Regions from separate parts of the Homo sapiens genome. Here region 2 is linked to region 1. Evidence: promoter capture Hi-C in human tissues and cell types (Jung and others, 2019). All regions are on one chromosome and are shown on one strand. The core of a region is centred on a gene start or on the middle of the fragment in contact, and the rest is flanking DNA. Distances in the headings are between cores, read along the strand shown. Region 1 holds the start of SEC14L6 (SEC14 like lipid binding 6). Region 2 overlaps NIPSNAP1 (nipsnap homolog 1).

Region 1 (4,570 bases), core at 1,320-3,819:
CCGGAGGGCTGGGGCGGTGCAGGCTCTGGGACCCAGGGGCCAGGGTGGCTCTTCTCTCCCCACCCCTCCTTGGCTCTCCAGCAGCCACGGCCCCCTCTCCCCACATTGCCACACACCTGGAGGCTGACGTTGCCAAACCAGCCAGGGAACCGACCTGGGAAGCGGCCAGAACTGCCTGGGGTCCAAGAACTCTTGTGCCTCCGTCCATCACCATGTGGGTTTTGAAGACCCTTGACTACCTCCCCGATGCTCCGAAGCCTGATCTTCCAGGGTGGGGAGGAGAAAATCCCACCTCCCCTGACCTCCACCACCACCACCACCACCCCTCAACTGGGGCTTGAGTGGGGAAGATTTCCCCTTTAGATCAAACTACCACTTCCATGGAAAAGCTGGAAAAAAACTCTGGAACCCATATCCAGACCTGGTGAGGTTGCTGCCAACAGTCCTGGCCTCCCCCATCCCTAGGCTAAAGAGCCATGAGTCCTGGAGGAGGAGAGGATCCCTCCCAAAGGACTGGAGACAAAACCCTCCGCTTCCTCAGGTCCCTCCAAGACTCCCTGGGGCCCAACTGTGTTGCTCCACCCGGACGCATCTCTCCCTTCTAGACCTGAGCTTGCCCCTCCAGCTAGCACTAAGCAACATCTCGCTGTGGGTGCCTGTAAATTACTGAGAAATGTGAAACGTGCAATCTTGAAACTGAGGTGTTAGAAAACTTGATCTGTGGTGTTTTGTTTTGTTTTTTTCTTAAAACAACAACAACGTGAAAAAAAGAAAGTCCACTCCAGCGCCCGGTCGCCACCCTTCTTTGCCCCGGGAACCCCATCCCGGCACCTCCCACCCCGCATACACCACCTACCCCATGCAAAACCCTATGATGGCAGGAATCGAGACCTCCAAGGACCCGTCGTTGCCTCCATGCTCATGGAACCGTGTGAGTCTTCCTGGACCCCAAGCTTGCCGTGTGCGACCACGAAGGAAAGACCCTAAGGACCTTCAAGGGACTCCTCCCAGGCTAGAGACGAAAATGCACCCTGTTCCTGCCTCCTCCAGCTCATAGCTGAGGACGTGACCTGCCAATGCAGCCTCCCCAGCAGGCCAGCAGCCTTCACCAGCCCTGTCCAATATGGTAGCCACAAATTCTTAAAATGTGGCTAGTTTGAACTGAGGTCTGCTGTGAGTGTAAAATACACAGGATTCCAAAGACTCAGTATCCCCTCAAAACACTCATTTTTTTTTTTTTTGAAACAGGGTCTAGCTCTGTTGCCCAGGCTGGAGTGCAGTGGCACGATGTTGGCTCACCGCAGTCTCGACCTCCTAGGCTCAATCCATCCTCCCACCTCAGCCTCCCGAGTAGCTGGGACTACAGGCATGGGCCACCACACCCAGCTATTTGTTGTTGTTGTTGTTGTTTTTAGAGATGGGGTCTCCCTATGTTGCTAATTTTTTAATTTTTTGTAAAGATGTGTTCTTGCTATGTTGCCAGAACTCCTGGGCTCCAGTGATCCTCCCGCCTCAAAGTGCGGGGATTATAGGCCCGAGCTACTGCACCAGACCAGTTGTTTTTATATTGATTAGATTATATATTGAAGTTAATACATCATTAAACTTTACTTCAATTGTTTCTTTTTAGGTTTTTTTTGTTTTGTTTTGTTTTGTTTTTGTTTTTGTTTTGTTTTTGAGACATAGTCTTGCTCTGTCTCCCAGGCTGGAGTGCAGTGGCAGAATCTTGGCCCACTGCAACCTCCACCTCCTGGGTTCAAACGATTCTCCTGCCACAGGGTTTCACCCTGTTGCCCAGGCTGGTCTCAAACTCCTGACCTCAAATGATCCATCCACCTCAGCCTCCCAAAGTGTTGGGATTACAGGCATGAGCCACAGCGCCCAGCCTCTTTTTAGTTCTTTAATGGAGCTACTAGAAAATTTCAAAAAGGCCGGGCATGGTGGCTCATGCCTGTAATCCCAGCACTCTGGGAGGCCAAGGTGGGTGGATCACCTGAGATCAGGAATTCCAGACCAGCCTGACCAACGTGGTTAAAACCCCATCTCTACTAACATACAAAAATTAGCCAGGCGTGGTAGCAGGTGCCTGTAATCCCAGCTACTCCGGAGGCTAGGGCAGGAGAATTGCTTGAACCCAGAAGGCAGAAGTTGCAGTGAGCCAAGATTGTGCCGTTGTACTCCAACCTGGGCAACAAGAGCGAAACTCCGTCTCAAAAAAAAAAAAAAAAAAAAAAAGGAAGAAAGAAAATTTCAAATGACCTATGTGGCTTGCGTTTGTGGTGGCGTGGTATTTCTATTGGTTAGTGCTGGTGTAGCCTCTGGCTACCAAGCCCCTCAGGGTTGGGAAGAGACCCAGAGCTGGAGAGTTCAGAAGAAACTCAGGGACCTTGAGTCCTGCCCTTCCCCGTGGCAGAAGGAGAAACTGAGGCTGGTGTAGGAGTCTCTCCCTTCACTCACCTGGGCCAGCGACTTCTCCTGCGATGGGCTCAGGTCACCCACTTGTCCACTCATGCTGCCCATGAATGGGTCCAGGCTCCACTCTGTGGCTCCCTCCAGGTGGCCTGCCTTTTGCCAGCTGGTAGCCATGCCCACATTTATCACCACCCAGAAATCCCACTACTTCCTGTGAGCCTCAGGGCAACAGGTGGGGCTCATTCCTTACTAGGTGCCTCAGGCATGGGGCCCTGGATTCAGCCTGCCCTGGGTTCACATCCTCACTTGCAAAATTAGGACAGCGATGTTTCCTCGGAGCGTTGATGACATGTTGAAATTGACACCACCTGATTTCACACACACACGGAGGCGGCTGTTCACCCTGCCTCTCAGTCCCCTACCCTCTACTCCTGTGGTCCCATCGGATGCCTCTTTGAGCCAGGAGAAGTCATCTCTCACCCCCAACAGAGGCCCGGAAGTCACTGTCATCATGCCTTCACTCTCATCCCAGGCTTCATCTACCACCTGACATGTCCAGAGCAACTGCCCATGATTCATCCCAGATGTTAAGGCACATGGCTTCAGGGTTGAGGATGAAACTTCCCAGGCCCAGACCCAAACAGGTGGATTTGCAATCCTGAGCTGGGCCACACTTGGCCTGGGAGCCAGGATGAGAGGTGAGGAGGGACTCCTGGCTACATCTGCCCCCACCACCCACTGGACAAGCAGAAAGCCAGAGCCCAAGGTGAGGACACATGAGATCACGCGGTGTGCACGGGGCCTGGAACACAGTAGTTATTTGTAGTAGTCTGGGTTGCCCTGAAACAAGGAGTTCAGGGCAAGTTTATTAGGGAGGTGTCCTGAGAAACACAAGTAGGGAAGTGTGGAAATGAGACAGAGAACGGAAGGCAGCTGTATAGGCCTGGTTATCAAGGAAGTACAGAAGAGCTCAATCCCAGTGGGGACTTCTGGGAGACAGCAGGGAACCTGCCCATCAGCGTTTCCTTGCCTGAGTGGGGAGGGAGCTGGGGTATTTATGCAGCATCTCGGGACAGTCTTCAGTTGAGGGCTGCTCCAGGGGCTGTCAATTCTGCTGGCACTGCTGGCCTGCTGTGCACACAATTCAGAAGGCTGGAGAGCGTACTTAGGCAGAGAAACACAGGTGCTGCTGCTGGGGAGTAGTGAGGCTGAGGTGATACAGGCAGAACATCACCAGCTTTAGCTCTAATCAGAAACCGTTTGCTGGGCTCCATGTCAAGTTCTAGTCCAAAGGCTTCATGTGCTCCTTGAGCCCCAGACTGTTCTTCCCTACCTGACAGAGCCTGGAAGAGGGAAGCAGCATGCCTGGGGCCATACAGCCATGTAGTAAGTGACAATCAGGACTATCTGGACCTGGTGCTTACTCAGGACATTGTATCCCACATGCCTGGCTCCTGCCAGAGGCATGCACATAGGTGGCCTTACTAAGTCCCAGGAGAGTCCCCCTTAGCCCTGGAAGAGGGCAATGAGCAGATCTGCCTCTTCTACAGGGTGGGGCCTCCCCAGTACCCCACACACTGCAGGCTGGAGCTTGAGCCATAAGGGGTAAAATCAGGAACTCTCCCCTACTCTTGTCTCCTCCCACTGGGTCCCTGCTCCCAGCACCTCTGGCCCATCTTCTTCTTCTTCTTCCTTATTTTTATGTATTTATTTTTTGAGACAGAGTCTTCTTGCTCTGTGGCCCAGGCTGGAGGGCAGTGGCTCACTGCAACCTCCTCCTCCCAGGTTCAAGCAATTCTCCTGTCTCAGCCTCCCGAGTATCTGGGATTACAGGCGCACGCCACCACACATGGTTAATTTTTGTATTTTTAGTAGAGACAGGGTTTCACCTTGTTGGCCAGGCTGGTCTTGAACTCTCGACCTCAAGAGATCTGCCCACCTTAGCCTCCCAAAGTGCTGGGATTACAGGAGTGAGCCATCGCACCCAGCCTTGGCCCATCTTCTTCAAGCTGGCTTCTGAGTAAGTCCCTCCTCTGCTCCAAAGCCTCCCTGGGCTCCTTGTTACCCTCAGTTAAAAACTGTAGATGCCTTCGCCTAGACTCAAGGCCCTTTTGGGTCCCTCCTGAGCTAATTTCCCCTTCCTTTCTCCCTTATCCCA
Region 2 (4,338 bases), core at 124-2,623, 980 kb before region 1:
CTCCCCACTGGGTAACAAGACCTGGTTTCAAAAATAAATAAATAAATGAAAATTTAAAAATGAATAAAACTGAAAGGCCAGGCACGGTGGCTCATGTCTACAATCCTAGCACTTTGGGAGGCCGAGGAGGTAGGATCATTTGAGTTCAGGAATTCAAGACCAGCCTGGGCAACATGGAGAAACCCCGTCTCTACCAAAAAACACAAAAATTAGCCGAGCATGGTGGAGCGCACCTATAGTCCCAGCTACTCAGGAAGCTGAGGTGGGAGTACTGCTTGAGCCTGGGAAATTGAGGCTCGAGTGAGCCAAGATTATGCCACTGCACTCCAGCCTGTGTGACAGAGCAAGACCCTGTCTCAAAAAAAAAAAAAAAAAAAAAAAAGGCCGGGAGTGGTGGCTCACTCCTGTAATCCCAGCACTTTGGGAGGCCGAGGCAGGTGGATCACCTGAGGTCAGAAGTTCGAGACCAGCCTGACCAACATGTGAAACCCCATCTCTACTAAAGATACAAAATTAGCCAGGCCTGGTGGCACAGGCCAGTAATCCCAGCTACTCGGGAAGCTGAGGCAGGAGAATATCTTCAACTCAGGAGGTGGAGGTTGCAGTCAGCCAAGACTGTGCCACTATCTGCCAGCCTGGGTGACAGAGCGAGACCCTGTCTCAAAAAAGAAAAAAGAAAAAAAAAAAAAAGGCCGGGTGCGGTGGCTCACACCTGTAATCCCAGCACTTTGGGAGGCTGAGGCAGGTGGATCACCTGAGATCAGGAGTTCAAGACCAGCCTGACCAACATGGTGAAATCCCGTCTCTACTAAAAATACAAAATTAGCTGGGCGTGGTGGCACATGCCTGTAATCCCAGCTACTCAGGAGGCTGAGACAAGAGAATTGCTTAAACTGGGGAGGCGGAGGTTGCAGTGAGCCGAGATTGCACTACTGCACTCCAGCCTGGGGCAACAAGAGTGAAACTCAGTCTCGGAAAAAAAAAGAATAAAAGACAGTGATCCAGGTAAAGCAGGCAAACAAGAAATAATGCTTAAGGCAGAAGAAAGAGAATGAGCAGTAGTCTGGAACTAAAGAGTGAAACTGTCAATCTGAGGAACTGAGTCCTGGGTGGGACAGCACAGCGAGGCATGGAGGATTTGGTGCCATGAGGCTGGGGGCAGGGCCGGGAAGGAGTCACAGGCTTCACGGGTCACCTTGAGGGCACAGGGGAGCCAGGACAGGTATTTGAGCAGGGGAGTGAGGTGATGAGGTTTTAGTAAGAGCCCCACCAGGTGCTGTTGTGGAGAGGGAGTGGAGAACAGCCAGGTGTGAAAGGTGCTGGAGGCCAGGGCTGGGCAGTGGCAATGGCACTAGGGAGGTGAGCGCCTTACCTGCCTGGTCCTGCTCCCCATACCACGTGTTCCAGTTGCCCACGAGTGAGCATGGGTAGTCCTCATCCAGGTGAAGCTTGGGCAGCACAGCCTCCCTGTGGGGGAGGTGCAGAGAGGGGCAGGGTTCACATAGCCACCAGGGCCTCTGAGATAAGGGTTCAAACTCAGTTCAAACAGACCCTGGGGCTGGGCCTCAGACTCTCCATCTCTAAAATGCAGAAGCTAGGCAAGAGGCCCTCAGGACTTCCGACACTGAAATTTACATCCTGGCTGGGCACAGTGGCTCACACCTGTAATCCCAACACTGGGAGGCTGAGGCAGGAGGATTGCTTGAGCCCAGTAGTTTGAGACCAGCCTGGGAAGCAAAGTGAGATCCCATCTCTCTTTTTTGTGTGTGAGACAGAGTTTTGCTCTTGTTGCCCAGGCTGGAGTGCAATGGCGCAATCTCGGCTCACTGGAACCTCCGCCTCCTGGAGACCATCTCTTAAAAAAAAAAAAAAGAAAGAAAGAAAATGGGGCCAAACGCAGTGGCACATGCCTGTAATCCCAGCACTCGGAGGCCGAGGCAGGTGGATCACCTGAGGTCAGGAGTTTGCGACCAGCCGGACTAACATGGTGAAACCCTGTCTCTACTAAATACAAAAAAATTAGCCATGCTTAGCGGCGCATGCCTGTAATCCGAGCTACTTGGGAGGCTGGAACAGGAGAATCGCTTGTACCTGGGAGGCAGAGGTTGCAGTGAGCCGAGATCGCGCCATTGCACTCCAGCCTGGGCAACGAGAGCAAAACTCCATCTCAAAAAAAAAGAAAGAGAGAAAGAAAGAAAGAAAGAAAAAGGCAGAAATAAAAGAAATCTACATCTCCTGGATTTCTACAGAAAAGAACAGGGTGGAGGATGTTCCGCAAATTTGCTGAAAGTGTGTTCCCCACCCAAGCAGGGGATGGGATGTATGGATGCAGGGTGCTCACGTGAGGCTGTTGTAGGCATCCAGGTATTCAGGCTTTACATTGTGAACTGCAACAGAGGACAGAGAACAAGAAGTGAGGTAGGGTGTGTACACAGGGAAGAACTTGGGGTGAGGGGAGCCCATCAAGGCCAGGGGTCCCAGGACAGCTGAGGACATTCCAGACCCTCCCATCTCCTTCCTGGAGCCTCACAGGCCCCCAGAGCCCCTGAAAGGGCAGAAATTGGTCAGCTCAGCAGCCACTCACACTGGATCTTATAGAGGTTGCTGGTTTCCTTCTTGGACAGCAGGGTGGAGTGGGCATCCTTCCGGGGATCCACTTTGTGAACAAAGAGGGAGCGGAACCAGCTGCCTTCATTGTCCTTGGAATAGAAACTGCAGGACAGAGGAGTTGAGGGGGACGCGCGGAGGTTGGGGGAGCCCCAGCAATTCCATCCACTTGGATGTCCTGCTCCCCTAGACCAGTGACCCACATTTCTGGGAACAGGGCCACGGAGTCCTGTGGCAGCTCCAGACTGTGAAATGCTATTGGAGCCAGCTCCTTTCTACAGATATTCCAGCTGCCCAGTTGGCTTCTTGAAGCTTTGCAGAGCCTCAGGACGCCAGGAGAGGCAGCCCCACCTCCCACTTCTCTCTCTAGCCTCCCTGCCTCCACTTCATCCCCCTTCCAAGAGGTCCTCTACTTGGGTCATATAACTCCAGCCTCTCGCCAAGAGGATCAACCCCAAATCCACCTTGCATCATGCCCAAAGCCCTTGACAACCCAACCTAACTTGTCAGCCTCCCCTCCTGCCCCCTCACCTGTACACCTCACTCTCCAGGTGTGCTCTTCCCTGAACACACCAGGATCTGCTACTCTGTGCTTTCTGTACAAGTTCTGTCCCCTCTAACGAGAAGACTGCTCTCACCGTCCTCCCCAGCACTCTCACAGTGCACTTGGCCCATGTCCCCACCCTGACCCCACACATGGAAAGCCAAATACAAATAAGCTTTGTCCTTGAGGAGCTCATAGTCCACTAGGAGAAATGGGCCTTGGGACACAATTATAGGAGGGGTCTCTGGAAGAGCCCAGGTGAACTAGCCTTAACTCTGCTTCTGGCAACCTGGGCAGACTCTCTACAGAGGAGGAGATGAGCTGGTCAGTCCCCAGGACTGGTTTGGCAGATAGAGGGAGTAAAAGGCACTGCAAAGCAAGATGCATTCACTCATCCAGCCAACACCTGCTCTGCCCATCTCCATAGGATACTGAGAATGAATGAATGAATGATCAATGAATATGATTATGTGCTTTGCCCATGAGCACTGTGGTTAAGGGCAGTGGAGGGTCTGCTGCCAGCTCCTACTGGACCAGAACTGCACTCCCATCCTAAACACATACCCAAGGTCCCAGCAGGAGGCAGGGGTGCTTATTTTGAGACTACCAATCTTCCCGCTCCACAGCCTTGGTGCAGCTTGCAGCCAGGCCTGAAAAGGAAGTCTCCCAATGGAGACAATTCCTAGCCAGGGAGCCTGGCAAGAGGGATCCCTGAGTGGCAGCAAGCCTTATCCCTTTTTTCTTTTTTCTCTTTTGTTTTTTCCAAGTGAGGTCACAGGAAGCCCTATCCTTTCTTTTCTTTTTTTCTTTTCTTTTTTTTTGAGACAGAGTCTTGCTCTTGTTGCTCAGGCTGGAGTGCAGTGGTGCGATCTCGGCTCACTGCAACCTCGGCCTCCCGGGTTCAAGCAATTTTCCTGCCTCAGCCTCCTGAGTAGCTGAGATTACAGGCGCGTACCACCACATCCAGGTAATTTTCGTATTTTTACAATACAAATACTCGGCTGCCCTATCCCTTTTTAAGACTTTTATGTGGTTAGACAAATGTCTTAGGCTGGGTGTGATGGCTCACGCCTGCAATCCCAGCACTTTGGGAGGCCAAGGCAGGCAGATCACCTGAGGTCAGGAGTTCGAGACCAGCCTGCCCAGCATGGCGAAACCCTGTCTCTACTAAAAATACAAAAATCAGC

Evidence for each region. Contacts are between HindIII fragments. The study calls those that stand out against the background at their distance.
Region 2: a contact is called between a fragment that was not itself captured here and the fragment with the promoter of SEC14L6 in region 1, in 1 of the 25 tissues and cell types used here (dorsolateral prefrontal cortex).

Annotation. Positions count from the first base shown.
Region 1 is chr22:30,544,172-30,548,741 of GRCh38, forward strand. It overlaps SEC14L6 (SEC14 like lipid binding 6), which reads right to left and starts at 2,570. Exons shown (of 12, transcript NM_001193336.4): 1 at 2,458-2,570. The coding sequence starts at 2,511. It also overlaps the pseudogene SIRPAP1. The HindIII fragment of the contact is 18,463 bases long and covers 1-4,570 here.
Region 2 is chr22:29,567,821-29,572,158 of GRCh38, forward strand. NIPSNAP1 (nipsnap homolog 1) reads right to left here. Exons shown (of 10, transcript NM_003634.4): 2 at 2,585-2,712; 3 at 2,342-2,387; 4 at 1,373-1,467. Among named protein-coding and RNA genes, the nearest start is that of NIPSNAP1, 11 kb to the right of the region's middle. RefSeq lists an enhancer at 1,360-1,654 and a silencer at 3,120-3,414. The HindIII fragment of the contact is 3,498 bases long and covers 1-3,122 here.